Regions from separate parts of the Homo sapiens genome. Here all the other regions are linked to region 2. Evidence: promoter capture Hi-C in human tissues and cell types (Jung and others, 2019). All regions are on one chromosome and are shown on one strand. Each heading gives the region's core, a stretch centred on a gene start or on the middle of the fragment in contact. The rest is flanking DNA. Distances are from core to core; before and after follow the strand shown. Region 1 overlaps EEF2 (eukaryotic translation elongation factor 2). Region 2 holds the start of ATCAY (ATCAY kinesin light chain interacting caytaxin). Region 3 has its middle 9.7 kb from the start of MATK.

Region 1 (4,216 bases), core at 382-2,881, 100 kb after region 2:
TCACGAGGTCAGGAGATCCAGACCATCCTGGCTAACACGGTGAAACCCCGTCTCTACTAAAAATGCAAAAAATTAGCCGGGCATGATGGCAGGCGCCTGAAGTCCCAGCTACAGGAGGCTGAGGCAGGAGAATGGCGTGAACCTGGGAAGCAGAGCTTGCAGTGAGCCAAGATCACGCCATTGCACTCCAGCCTAAGCAACAGAGCAAGACTCTTGTCTCAAAAAAAAAAAAAAAAAAAAAAAAAAAATAGCCCTGGGCCAGGCATGGTGGCTCACACCTGTAATCCCAGCACTTTGGGAGGCCGAGGCAGGGGGATCACGAGGTCAGGAGATCGAGACCATCTTGACTTACTAACACAGTGAAACCCCGCCTCTACTAAAAATACAAAAAAAAATTAGCCGGGCGTGGTAGCACGCGCCTGTAGTCCCAGTTACTCAGGAAGCTGAGTGAGGCAAGAGAATCGCTTGAACCCGGGAGGTGGAGGTTCTAGCGAGCCAAGATCACGCCACTGCACTCCAGCCTGGATGACACAGCGAGACTATCTCAAAAAAAACAACAACAACAACAAAAACAGCCCCACATGCCTGTGGAAGACTGCAAAGAAGAAACTTGAGGAACTTAAGAAGCTGAGACCAAGACCGAGATCAAGTCTAGGCGTCTGCAGAGCCTAGCTCAGCTCAGCTTTAAAGCAGAGGGCAGGTGTCCGGGGTGGGGCGTGGGGAAGGCTGGTCACTGGCGCCTCACCTTGATGGGGATGCAGGCGTGGTCCTCCTCCAGGTCCTTCAGGCAGATCTCCAGGTGCAGCTCGCCGGCGCCCGCGATGATATGCTCTCCCGACTCCTCGATGATGCACTGAAAGGGATGCGGGTCAGCACCAAAGGGGTAGGCGGCTCGGAACAGGCGGGACCAGGCTCCCAGCTTCCCTTTAGCTAGGGACCCCGCCAGAACAAGATTTCAGGGAAGGTGCTGGGAAACTGGGACCAGCACAAACTCCTGAAGAAATGTTAAGTCCCACAAGCTACAGTGAACACGCGCAGAGCAGCCTAGGAGAGGGTGGTGGCTGCCTGGGCAGGAGTCTCCATTTACAGCCACAGCCAAGAACCCCTCCTTTCATGACCAGTCACCCCAATCCACCAACCACAGCAACCCACACAGCCACAACTCAGGACACAAGCCGTCCCCCCTCAGGGTGTCTGCTCCCAGCAGGTGCACTCCGTGCCCACCTGCACCATGGGGTCGGACTTGGCCAGCCGCTTCAGCCCCTCCACCAGCTTGGGCAGGTCAGCCGGGTTCTTGGCCTCCACGGCCACTCTGACAACAGGGCTGACGCTGAACTTCATCACCCGCATGTTGTGCGCGTGCTCGAAGGTGGTGATGGTGCCCGTCTTCACCAGGAACTGGTCCACGCCCACGAGGCCCACAATGTTCCCACAAGGCACATCCTCGATGGGCTCCACGTAGCGGCCCATCATCAAGATTGTTCTGGAAGAAGCAGAAGGCGGCAGCAGGCCGCAGGGATGGTTGTGCTGGACCCTGGAGGGCCAGGGCAGGTCCCTCCCGGAGTTGGTGGCCCTCCTGCCAGGTCCCAGGGCAGACTGGTGGCTTCCACAAGGCCCTGACTGCTGCGTCGGGGCTGTCAGGAAACATCCTCTTCAGAATCACTGCCCTCCTCCCTGGGTATGGGTCGACGGCCGCCACCCACCTGTGCCCAGGGACACAGATGAGCAGGGGTGTGCTGTGCCCTGGGGCTTGGAGCTTCTCCAGAAATGCCCTCACTGGGCTAAGAACAAAAGTTGTGGCTGGCACAAGTATCACCCTATATTCCTTCTATGCTCCTTACTTCTAGCTCCCGACTGAGGAGCCCAAGACTTGGAGCAGGGCAGGGCCCGCAACAGTGCCAAGGGGCCTGCACATCACCCAGCTGCTCACCTCTGGATTGGCTTCAGGTAGAGGTCCTCCTTCTTCCCAGGGGTATAGTTGGGCCCCATGATCCTGACCTTCAGGCCAGTGGAGACCAGCCCCGAGAAGACTCGTCCAAAGGCGTAGAACCGACCTTTGTCGGAGGTTGGCACCATTTTGGAAATATACATCATAAGAGGGCCTTTGGGGTCACAGCTTTTAATGCCTGAGGGACAGAGAAAACCCGCAAGCTTTATTCCAGTGCAGCTCAGCCTTCTGGAACCCTGCAACCCACAACCTTGGGCAACAGGAAGTCATCCGGCTGCATCTCAGGGCCCGGCCACCGGGACCACGTACCCATGGCAGCCTCGTCGTCCGGGGGCCCCTCGTACAGGAGCTCGCAGCGGTACTTCTGGGCCGTCACAGGGGAGGGCAGGTGGATGGTGATCATCTGCAACAAGGCGTCTCCGGCAGGCAGCCAGCGGCGCATCACAGCCTGCGGGGGCAGAGAGCGGTGCATGAGACACCTGGGGAGCCCAGGATGGCCCCACCCCGTACACGCTTCCTCTCTTGAAGCCAAGGAAGCCAAAGTCAGGACTAACGTTCTCCAAAGCACAGTCCCTTCTGGAAGGCGGCAAAGGCCATGCACACTCCTGCCAAGGCCCTCACCCACACCTGTCCCGGATGGGGCTGGCTGCTGGGATGTGTCTCCAGCAGCACCCAGAGTCTAAAGCGAAAGGGGCAGCAGCTGTCCCTGCCCAGCTGAGGACTTCAGCCCCCAGGCCTGGGCTGTCAGAGCATCCGGAAACAGCAGCCTGTGTTCCCTCCACCCCGAGGGCTGGGCCCAGGCCGCACCTTCAGCAGGGGTTTGCCTTCTTTGTCCTTGTCCTCGCTGTCCAGTTTGATGTCCAGTTTCTCTATCAGTTTTGCTGTCTCCTCTTTCTTGAAATTCATGATCGCATCAAACACCTACATTCCCCACCAAGAAACAAGAAAGCCCATTTGGGAACAGCAGGAGGAAGCCTGGCACTGCTTCCTGCTTGGAAGACTCAGGTCAGCGCAGGGGGACGCAGCACGGGAGCAGGAGCAGGCCTGGCCTGCCTACCACGGGCCCAGCCAGCTGAGCGGATCGGGAGCTGGAGGAAACCTCGTGGTGGAGCAGAGGAAAAAGCCCACTCTGACTCAGACAAGGACCCAAGTTCTGACTTACAAGCACTGAACCGCCAAAGCCACAAGTTATTCAACCCCCTCAATGCAGGAGAGGTCCCAAGGCTCTGGCTATGCAGTCCAGATCTTAAGAGAGGAGCCCTGACTCCACCTCAGTTAGGAGCTGTGCCTCCTCCCATCTCGCATCTGCCCCACAAGGAGACGGGCCCAGTCAGCCGACAGGCTACCGGCCGGAGCCCACAGGGCCGAGGGCCAATAGTCGCATCGGCGGGGTGCCTGGCGCAGCCCTCACTCACCTTGAAGATGGGGTCCAGGATCAGCTGGCAGAAGGTGCGTGGCAGCTTCTTCCCTTCGGGGCTGGTGGCTGACTTGCTGAACTTGCCGTTGGCTGGGTCAAAGTACCTGGCAAGGAGAGGCCAAGCCAAATCAAGTTAGGGTCTCCAGGGGATGACTTGGGGAGGGTGGTCGCCAAGGGGACATGCTTGGGCAAGACCTGGTGGGCTTGAGCCACGCTGTGAATAGCACACCACGCCCCTACGTCGCTGCCACTACCCCCAGGTGTCAGGAATCCCCCACCATATCCCGCGGGGCTCACCTGTCACCCCACAGCTTCTTCATCATGTCCTCTACTTTCTTGGCCCGCTCGGCAGGCCCCAACTGGCCCTCCCCCTTGGCGGCGAACTTGGCCACATACATCTCGGCAAACTGCTTCAGGGTGAAGGCCCACCCGTGGAGGCCAGACCCAAAGCCCACGGTACCGAGGACAGGATCGATCTGGAAGTGTGAGAAACGAGAAGCAGCCGTGAGGGCCCCTGCGCAGAGCCTGAAGCTACGGGCTGGGCGCCTTGGGCATGGGCCTCAGACGCAGGCTTTCTTCAGTAGACATCTGGTCAAAGTGAAGAAATGATCAGTCATCACGAATAGGGGGGCCAGCCCCTCCACCACCCAGGGCAGCGTTCCCTGAGCTCGTCTCTTCCAGCTGCCCAAAGATCAAGGGCTGGGTCAAGTCGGATGAAAACATTCCAGCCCCCTTCTCTGTCACCCAACATTCCTGGCAAAAACACACTTCCAGTCCCCCTCAGCTCAACTCCACTCCCCACCGGCTCCTGCAGATCCCGCTGCGGCAAGCCCACCACCCAGCTAGGGAGG
Region 2 (4,090 bases), core at 172-2,671:
CGGATCACCTGAAGTCAGGAGTTCGAGACCAGCCTGGCCAACATGTTGAAACCCCGCCTCTACTAAAAATACAAAAAAAAAATTAGCCAGGTGTGGTGGTGTGTGCCTGTAATCCCAGCTACTTGGGAGGCTGAGGGAGGAGAACCACTTGAACCTGGGAGTCGGAGGTTGCAGTGAGCCAAGATCGCACCACTGTACTCCAGCCTGGCAACAGAGCGAGACTCCACCTAAAAAAAAAAAAAAAAGAAAGAAAGAAAGAAAGAAAGAAAGAAAGAAAGAAAGAAAGAAAGAAAGAAAGAAAGAGAAAGAAACACATAGGGAGCTTTTCTTGTGCCCCAGCACTGTGTTTAGTGCTGTCTATGCATTATCTCATAATGTGGAAAAGCCATAGCGGCTCCATTTCACAGATGAGAAAAACTGAGGCCCGCAGGTGAGATCACTCATGCCCACTGGTCTGCCAGCTGGGGAGTGGCTGGGCTAGAGTTCAAACCCACTTCCAGTCCGACTGCACGGCCTGCACTCTCCACCCTACCATCTTCCACAGTCTCCTTGAATTCCTCCAGGGCGAGGCCACGCCAGCGCACAACTGCAGGGGGCGCCGTTCCCACAGCAGCCCTGCAAAGTGAGTGTGCCTGAGAAACTTCCGCCTCCCCTGCACCCAGCCCTGTTTAGGGCACGAGGCTGAATCAATGGTAAGTGACCATCTAATGGACCCACAACACGGTGACCTGGGGACAGTCATTTCTTTCTTTTTTTTTTTTTTTCTTTGAGACAGAGTCTCCCTCTGCCGCCCAGGCTGCAGTGCAGTGGCGCCATCTCGGCTCACTGCAACCTCCGCCTCCCAGGTTCAAGCGATTCTCCTGCCTCAGCCTCCCGAGTAGCTGGGATTACAGGCGCACGCCACCACGCCTGGCTAATTTTTGTATTTTCAGTAGAAACGGGGTTTCACCATGTTGGCCAGGCTGGTATCGAACTCCTGACTTCAGGTGATCCTCCCTCCTCGGCCTCCGAAAGTGCTGGGATTACAGGCGTGAGCCATGGCATCCGACCTGGGGACAGTCATTTCTTTGCCTGCACAGACTTTTTGGGGGATGCCACCCCTCACCCCTGCTCCCTTTGCAAGGAGAAGTGCCAAGAAGACCTTTCCCAACTCCCCCACCCCCCATTCTCTAAGGAATGAGGCCATCTTGCCATTTATTTATTTATTTGTCCGTTGTTTTGTTTTTAAATCTCTGATGCGCCATCAGAAAATTATTTCTGCCTCTGCCCCTGGCGTGGCTTTCGGAGATGCTTGTCTGTCAGCCAATGGGGAGGATCGGATTCTGGCAGGGGGCTGTGCTTTTCCGTCAGGCCGCCACCCCCCACCCCCTCCTCCCTGCACACAAAAGCAGCATAAATTAACCGTCTTCGGGAAGCCGAGCCTCTGCCAGCCCTGAGCTGGGAAGAAGCAGCTACCTCGGAGGCAGGGCGCGCAGGCGGGCGGCGATGAGAGGGGGCGCAGCCGCAGCCCCGCGCTGGGGAGCCCACCGCTAACCCTGCACCCCACCCACCCCTGCACAAAAGAGCTGGCGGGCGCTGGCCACGTCGCCCTGGGTGACCTTCCTCGGATGCAGAATCCGCCCCTGCGAGCATCCTCTTCCTCCTAGGCTCTGAAGGCCCGGGGAGCGTGAGCGATGCCCAGCTGCACCCGGGCAGGGCTCGCCTTTGTTTGCCAGTAAGGAGGAGAGGCTGTCTCAGCTGCAGAGGTGAGTGCGCGCATCTCCCCTTCTCCCAGGATAAACCGTCTCCCTGGAAGGTTTATCCGGCAGCCTTTGCCGCCTCTAAATCCCTTTCCAGCAGATGGGGCGGGTGGGAGCAGAGAGCCACGGTCTTGTGACTCCGTGAAGGCCCTCACATCCCTGTTCCCGGTACCAGGGAAAACCGTTCCCTGAGCTGCGCCCAGCAACACAGTTTACCTTCCGCGCGCACCGTTCCCCTCTAAGTGCACCATTTTCAGGACACGCTGAGAGCTCGGGCGGATGAAAACCTCAGCTTCTCTCTGGGACGCTGAAATAGACCCATCCTAGCCCTATGTATTTCCTATTTATAACGCTAGGAAGGCCACCAGCCGACGATTTCGGGAAAAAAAAAAAAAAAAAATCTAAGTGTGTCGATAAAGGCTGTCCTGTGGGGTGGGGAGGAAGGGGGTGGTTTATGGTTTAAGACACAGATGCCTCCTCCTTATTGGAACTCGTATGTGATTTGTTAATAATCAGACATCAGGGCTCAAATGAGCGCTTCACTCCCGTTCCTTGATGTCACTGTCTTCTTTTGGCCGTCCCCAAATGCGAAGCCAGGATCTGAGTGCAGGAGTGTCCGGGGCCCACTGAGGACCCACCCCACCCCATCCTTAGAAGACTGTGGAGTCAACGCCTGTGGCTGCAGCTGGCAGGGGGTGGGGGTCGGGGGCGGGGCTGGTGGGAGTGTTCCTGGGGGCTGAGGTCACACCCAGCTCAGTATAAGGAAGGGAGAGGCGAAGACCCCTTCCTCCGGAGAGCAAATGCGTTTCTACTGCCGAGGAGAACTTACCCTCGCGGGAAGGGCCTGGCTGGCTGCTGCCACCGCCCCCCCCCCGACCCCATAGCATCCAGGAGGGATTTTTTTTTTTTCCATGCTGCGTGTTACTGTCCCTCCTCCAAGCATGAATGACGACATTGAGGACAGAGAATCGAGTGAGAAACGCTCACCCTGTACGGGGGAGGGTCTAGTTTTAGCCGTCCCCTCCCCCCACTTCCTCATCTGGCTGAGGCTGCCTCTGGGTCCTTCCTTGCTAAGCCACAGTCCCCTGTCCCCGATGCAAACCCGATATCTATGCTGGGGGGCTGCAGGTAACCTACTCCACAGAGAGGCAGCCTGGATGCCATGAGAGTTGGGGGCCTTAGATGCTTCATGTATTTGGTTTTTTTGAGACAGGGTCTTGCTATCTTGCCCGGGCTGGTCTTAACCTCCTGTGCTCAGGCGATCCTCGCAAAGTGCTGGGATTACACGTGTGAGCCACTGCCCCCAGCCAGATGCTTTATCTTTTATTTTATTTTTTGAAGTAGGGTCTCTGTTGCTCAGGCTGGAAAGCAGTGGCATGATCATAGCTCACTGCAGTCTCGACCTCCTGGTCTCAAGCGATCCTCCAACTTCAGCCTCCTGAATAGCTGGGACTTCAGGCACCAGGCACCCATCACCATGTTTGGTTAATTTTTGTATTTTTTTTTTTTTAAGAGATGGGGACTTGCTATGTTGCCCAGGCTGGTCTTGACCTTCCAGGCTCAAGCGATCCTCCTATCTCAGCCTCCCAAAGTGCTGGGGATTACAGGTGTGAGCCACCGCACCAGCCAGATGCCTTATTTTATTTTATTTTATTTTCTGAAATAGAACCTCACTCTGTTGCTCAGGCTGGAATGTGGTGGCACAATCATACCTCACTGCAGCCTCCACCTCCTGGGCTCAGGCAATCCTCCCACCTCAGCCTCCTGAACAGCTGTGACTTCAGGCACCCACCAAATTTAATTAATTTTTGTTTTTGTTTTTGCTTTTCGTAGAGATGGTGTCTTGCTATGTTGCCCAGGCTGGTCTTGACCTTCTGGGCTCAATCCTCCCACCTCAGCCTCCTGAATAGCTAAGACCTCAGGCACCCACCATTGTGCTTGGTTAGTTTTTGTATTTTTTTTTTGAGAGATGGGGTCTTGCTGTGTTGCCCAGGCTGGTCTCGAACCCCTGGTCTCAAGTGATCTGCCCAAAGTGCTGGAATTCCAGGCATGCACCACTGCACCCAGCCCCTAGACGCTTTAAAAAGTGGATCTAGTGGCCCGGCAGGGTGGCTCACACCTGTAATCCCAGCACTTTGGGAGGCAGGTGGATCATGAGGTCAGGAGTTCGAGACCAGCCTGGCCAATATAGTGAAACCCCATCTCTACTAAAAATACAAAAATTAGCTGGACGTGGTGGCACGCGCCTGTAGTCCAAGCTACTCAAGAGGTGGAGGTTGCAGTGAGCCGAGATCGCACCACTGCACTCTAGCCTGGGCGACAGAGCGAGACTCTGTCTCAAAAAAAAAATG
Region 3 (4,124 bases), core at 604-3,103, 85 kb before region 2:
GCTCAGGCATGGGGCAGCCACAGGACCTTTGCACATGCTCTTCCTATCTCCTAGTACTACATCCTTCCCCCAGCTCTTCTCAAGGCCAGCTACTTCTCTGCACTTTCAGCTTCTCCAAGAGACCCTCCCTGGCCACCCCACAGTGGTCACCCTTAGTTACTCTCTATTGTCAAAGCCGGAATCCCCACCTGTTATCCTGTCTCACTCGTCATTGTCAATCTCCCTCCATCCTTGCTTCCCACGACAGAATATATCTTCCTAATGAGGGTAACGACCAGCCCTGGGCCCGGCAACCATTTAGGTCTGGAGCCTGGCACATAAAAGGCCCTTACAGAAGCAGATGAGAGGGTAAAGTCTGAGGAAGGAGGCCAGGCATGAAGGCTCACGCTTGCAATCCCAGCACTTTGGGAGGCTGAGGTGGGAGGATTGCTTGAGCCCTGCCATTGGAGACCAGTCTGGCCAACATAGTGAGACCCTGTCTCTACAAAAAATAAAATAAACTAGCTGGGTGTGGTGGTGTATGCCTGTAGTCCCAGCCACTCAGGAAGCTGAGGCAGGAGGATCACTTGAGCCCAGGAGGTTGAGGCTGCAGTCAGCTATGATTATGCTACTGCACTCCAGCCTGGGCAACAGAGCAAGACCCTGTCTCAAAAAAAGAAAAGAAAAGATCAAGTAAGGAGAACAGGAGATACACATTATTCCGGAATAAACCAGTCATGTCTACTCAAGAGCAGCCCCTAAGTCTCTCCTCCAGGATCCCTCTTCATCCTCTCATGACCTCATGCTCTAACTCAGGGCCCAGCAAACTGTCTCTCTAAAGGGCATGCTGGTCTCTGTCCCAACTACTCAGCTCTGCCATTTCAGGGACACCATAGATAACACAGAAGCCAAAGACCGTGGCTGCATTCCAATAAAACTTTATTTATGGACATGGACATTTGACTTTCATATTACTTTTCTTTTCTTTTGCTTTTTTTTTTTTTTTTTTTTGAGCTGGAGTCTCGCTCTGTTGCCCAGGCTGGAGTGCAGTGGCGTGATCTTGGCTCACTGCACGCTCCACCTCCCAGGTTCACACCATTGTCCTGCCTCAGTCTCCCATGTAGCTGGGACTACAGGCGCCCGCCACCACACCCGCCTAATTTTTTGCATTTTTAGTAGAGAAGGGATTTCATCGTGTTAGCCAGGATGGTCTCGATCTCCTGACCTCGTGATCCGCCCACCTCGGCCTCCCAAAGTGCTAGGATTATGGGCGTGAGCCACCAAGCCTGGCCTTTTTTTTTTTTTTGAGACAGAGTCTCACTCTGTTACCCAGGCTGGAATGCATTAACGTGATCTCGGCTCACTGCAACTTCTGCCTCCTGGGTTCAAGCAATTCTCATGTCTCAACCTCCCAAGTAGCTGGGATTACAGGCATGTGCCACCACACCCGGCTAATTTTTGTATTTTAGTAGAGATGGGTTTCATGTTGGCCAGGCTGGTCTTGAACTCCTGACCTTAGATGATCTGCCCACTTTGGCCTCCCAAAGTGCTGGGATTACAGATATGAGCCACCATGCCCGGCCTCATATGACTTTTCATATGTCATATAATATTGATTCCATTTTCCTCCAACTATTTACAAATGTAAAAAAACGATTTTAGCTGGAGGAGTTGTGCGGATACAGATGGCAGGTTGGACTTGGCCCTCAGACTGTAGTTTGCTCTCCGCTGCCTTCTCACAGTCTTTATTTTCTCATAAGTAGGTGCTTTTTTTTTTTTTTTTTTTTTTTTTTTTGAGATGGAATCTCACTGTTTCGTCCAGGCTGGAGTGCAGAGGCGTGATCTTGGCTCACTGCATCCTCCGCCTCCCAGGTTCAAGCTATTCTCCTGCCTCAGCCTCTTGAATAGCTAGGATTACAGGCACGCGCCATCACGCCTGGCTAATTTTTGTATTTTTAGTAGAGATGAGGTTTCACCATGTTGGCCAGGCTGGTCTCGAACTCCTGACCTCAAGTGATCTGCTTGCCTCGGCCTCCCAAAGTGCTGGGATTACACGTGTGAGCCACCAGCTGTATTTTTCAATCTGTTAAATTAAATGTGCTGATACTCATGGCATGTAATAAGCTCTCAAGAAGTGTTTAAAAAAATAAAACTCAAAATATATAAATAAAGCTCCTCAACTCAGCAATGAGCCTCTCAAGGGTAAGTATATTCTTGTTGGTATGAATAGCAGCTGATATTTATAGGGTGTTTTACTGTGTGCTGAAGACAAAGCAATATAATGTCCCACTCCTCAGGGGTTGCTGTTGCTGTTTTCAGGTATTTACCTCCATAGTTCCAAGTAATGTGTTTTACACATCCCTTGATTTATCAGTTGGATGTTGTCCATTGACTTCCTATTCCAGAAGGTCAAGATTTAGCTCTCTTAGGCATTCTGCTCCCCCAACAGTTAAATCACAATTTTTGCTTAAATGAAAATTCAGTGCTTATAGTATATATATTAATATAAATATTATTGACAGTGGAGCAATGTATACTAAGAACATTATTTTCTGGGACCTGCTTTTTTATTTCCCTGGAGTTAGTCATCGCCTTGGTTTTATGTGTCTGTGACTCTTTCCCCCAGCCTCTCCACCAGAACTGACATCTCCACTCAGGACTTTCTCCTACTGCCCAGCTGTGATCCTGGCCCCTCTCTTCTTCGGCACAAGGGGATTCTTAGATATAGCTCCTGTTTCTTGGGTGTGGGTCTCCCTGTTTCTTGGTTTGGTCCCTTGTTTTAGGAATGTGCTCCCCCTAGGGTTTCCAGAGAAAGTGTTTTCCTCCTACTCTCCTGGGTAATTAGAGGTTTGGCTGACAGTATTGTAGGTGGATACTTTTCTTTTGCCCAATGTTTTCCAGCTTCTAGTCTTGGGCAGCTGAATGATCAGAAGTTGTCCTGTTTCCTCATACTTTGCCTGTCCCATGGTTAATTTCTGTCTCTCTCTCTCTCTTTCTGGAAGCTTGTAGAATCTTCTTGTTCCCTACATCCTGCACTTTCACAGTGGTGGGTTTGGTGTGGGTCTGTTTTCAACCATTGTGCTGAGTACTTGGTGGGCTCTTTCCTGTGTTCTCTTCCTGGCAAACTTTCTTGAATGATATCATTGGTGATTTCTTCCACTTTGGTTTCTCTGGCGTGTTTGTGGAACACGTTATTGTCATAGGGTGGACTTCTTGGATTGATGTTTTCATTTTCTTGCCTACCTTCCCCCCCACCCCCCCACTTTCTACTTTTTCTTCCAACCCTTCTATTGACATTTTAATTTTGACTATTAATTTTTTTTTTTTTTTGAGACAGGGTCTCACTCTGTTGCTCAGGCTGGAGTGCAGTGGTGCAATCACAGCCCACTGCAGCCTCGACCTCCTGGGCTCAAGTGATCCTCCTGCCTCAGCCTCCCAAGTAGCTGGGACTACAGGTGCCTGCCACCATGCTGGCTAATTTTTTTGATTTTTAGTCTCACTATGTTTCCCAGGCTGGTTTCAAACTCCTGAGCTCAAACAATCTGCCTGCCTCAGCCTCCTGGAGTGTTGGGATTACAGGCATGCACCACCACACCCAGTGACTGTCAGAGTTTTAATTTCCAAGAGCTCTTTCTGGTTCTTTTACCGTTCCTCTTTAAAGGACAAACTTGGCTGTGTGTGGTGGCTCACGGAGCTCAGGAGTTTGAGACCAGCCTGGGCAACATAGTGAGACCCCAATCTCCAAATAATATGTAAATAAATAAAAGAATTTCTTGGCCCAGTGCAGTGGCTCACACCTGTAATCCCAGCACTTTAGGAGTCTGAGGCTGATGGGTCACCAGAGGTCAGGAGTTCGAGACCAGGCTGGCCAACATGGTGAAACCCCATCTCTACTAAATATACAAAAATTAGCCGGGCATGGTGGCTCATGCCTATAATCCCAGCTACTTGGGAGGCTAAAGGAGGAGAATCGCTTGAACCTGGGAGGTGAAGTTTGCAGTGAGCCAAGAACACATCACTGTACTCCAGCCTGGGTGACAGAGGGAGACTCCATCTCAAAAAATAAAAAATAAAAATAAATAATAAATAAATAAGTAAATAAATAAAGGCAAACTTATACTTGTTTCCTGGCTGTTATATCCTCT

What was found. Contacts are between HindIII fragments. The study calls those that stand out against the background at their distance.
Region 1: a fragment that was not itself captured here is called in contact with the fragment with the promoter of ATCAY in region 2 in 4 of the 25 tissues and cell types used here (dorsolateral prefrontal cortex, heart right ventricle, lymphoblastoid cells and 1 more).
Region 3: a contact is called between a fragment that was not itself captured here and the fragment with the promoter of ATCAY in region 2, in 5 of the 25 tissues and cell types used here (H1 embryonic stem cells, IMR-90 fibroblasts, dorsolateral prefrontal cortex and 2 more).

The regions. Positions count from the first base shown.
Region 1 is chr19:3,978,584-3,982,799 of GRCh38, forward strand. It overlaps EEF2 (eukaryotic translation elongation factor 2), which reads right to left. Exons shown (of 15, transcript NM_001961.4): 5 at 3,663-3,841; 6 at 3,364-3,469; 7 at 2,756-2,869; 8 at 2,258-2,396; 9 at 1,931-2,126; 10 at 1,225-1,483; 11 at 746-853. It overlaps SNORD37 (small nucleolar RNA, C/D box 37), which reads right to left and starts at 3,989; the gene lies at 3,924-3,989. RefSeq lists an enhancer at 2,890-3,741. The HindIII fragment of the contact is 5,039 bases long and covers 1-4,151 here.
Region 2 is chr19:3,879,264-3,883,353 of GRCh38, forward strand. ATCAY (ATCAY kinesin light chain interacting caytaxin) reads left to right here and starts at 1,422. Exons shown (of 13, transcript NM_033064.5): 1 at 1,422-1,745. RefSeq lists an enhancer at 1,097-1,627. The HindIII fragment of the contact is 15,458 bases long and covers 1-4,090 here.
Region 3 is chr19:3,794,006-3,798,129 of GRCh38, forward strand. It overlaps a transcript of MATK not described here. Among named protein-coding and RNA genes, the nearest start is that of MATK, 9.7 kb to the left of the region's middle. The HindIII fragment of the contact is 4,542 bases long and covers 1-4,124 here.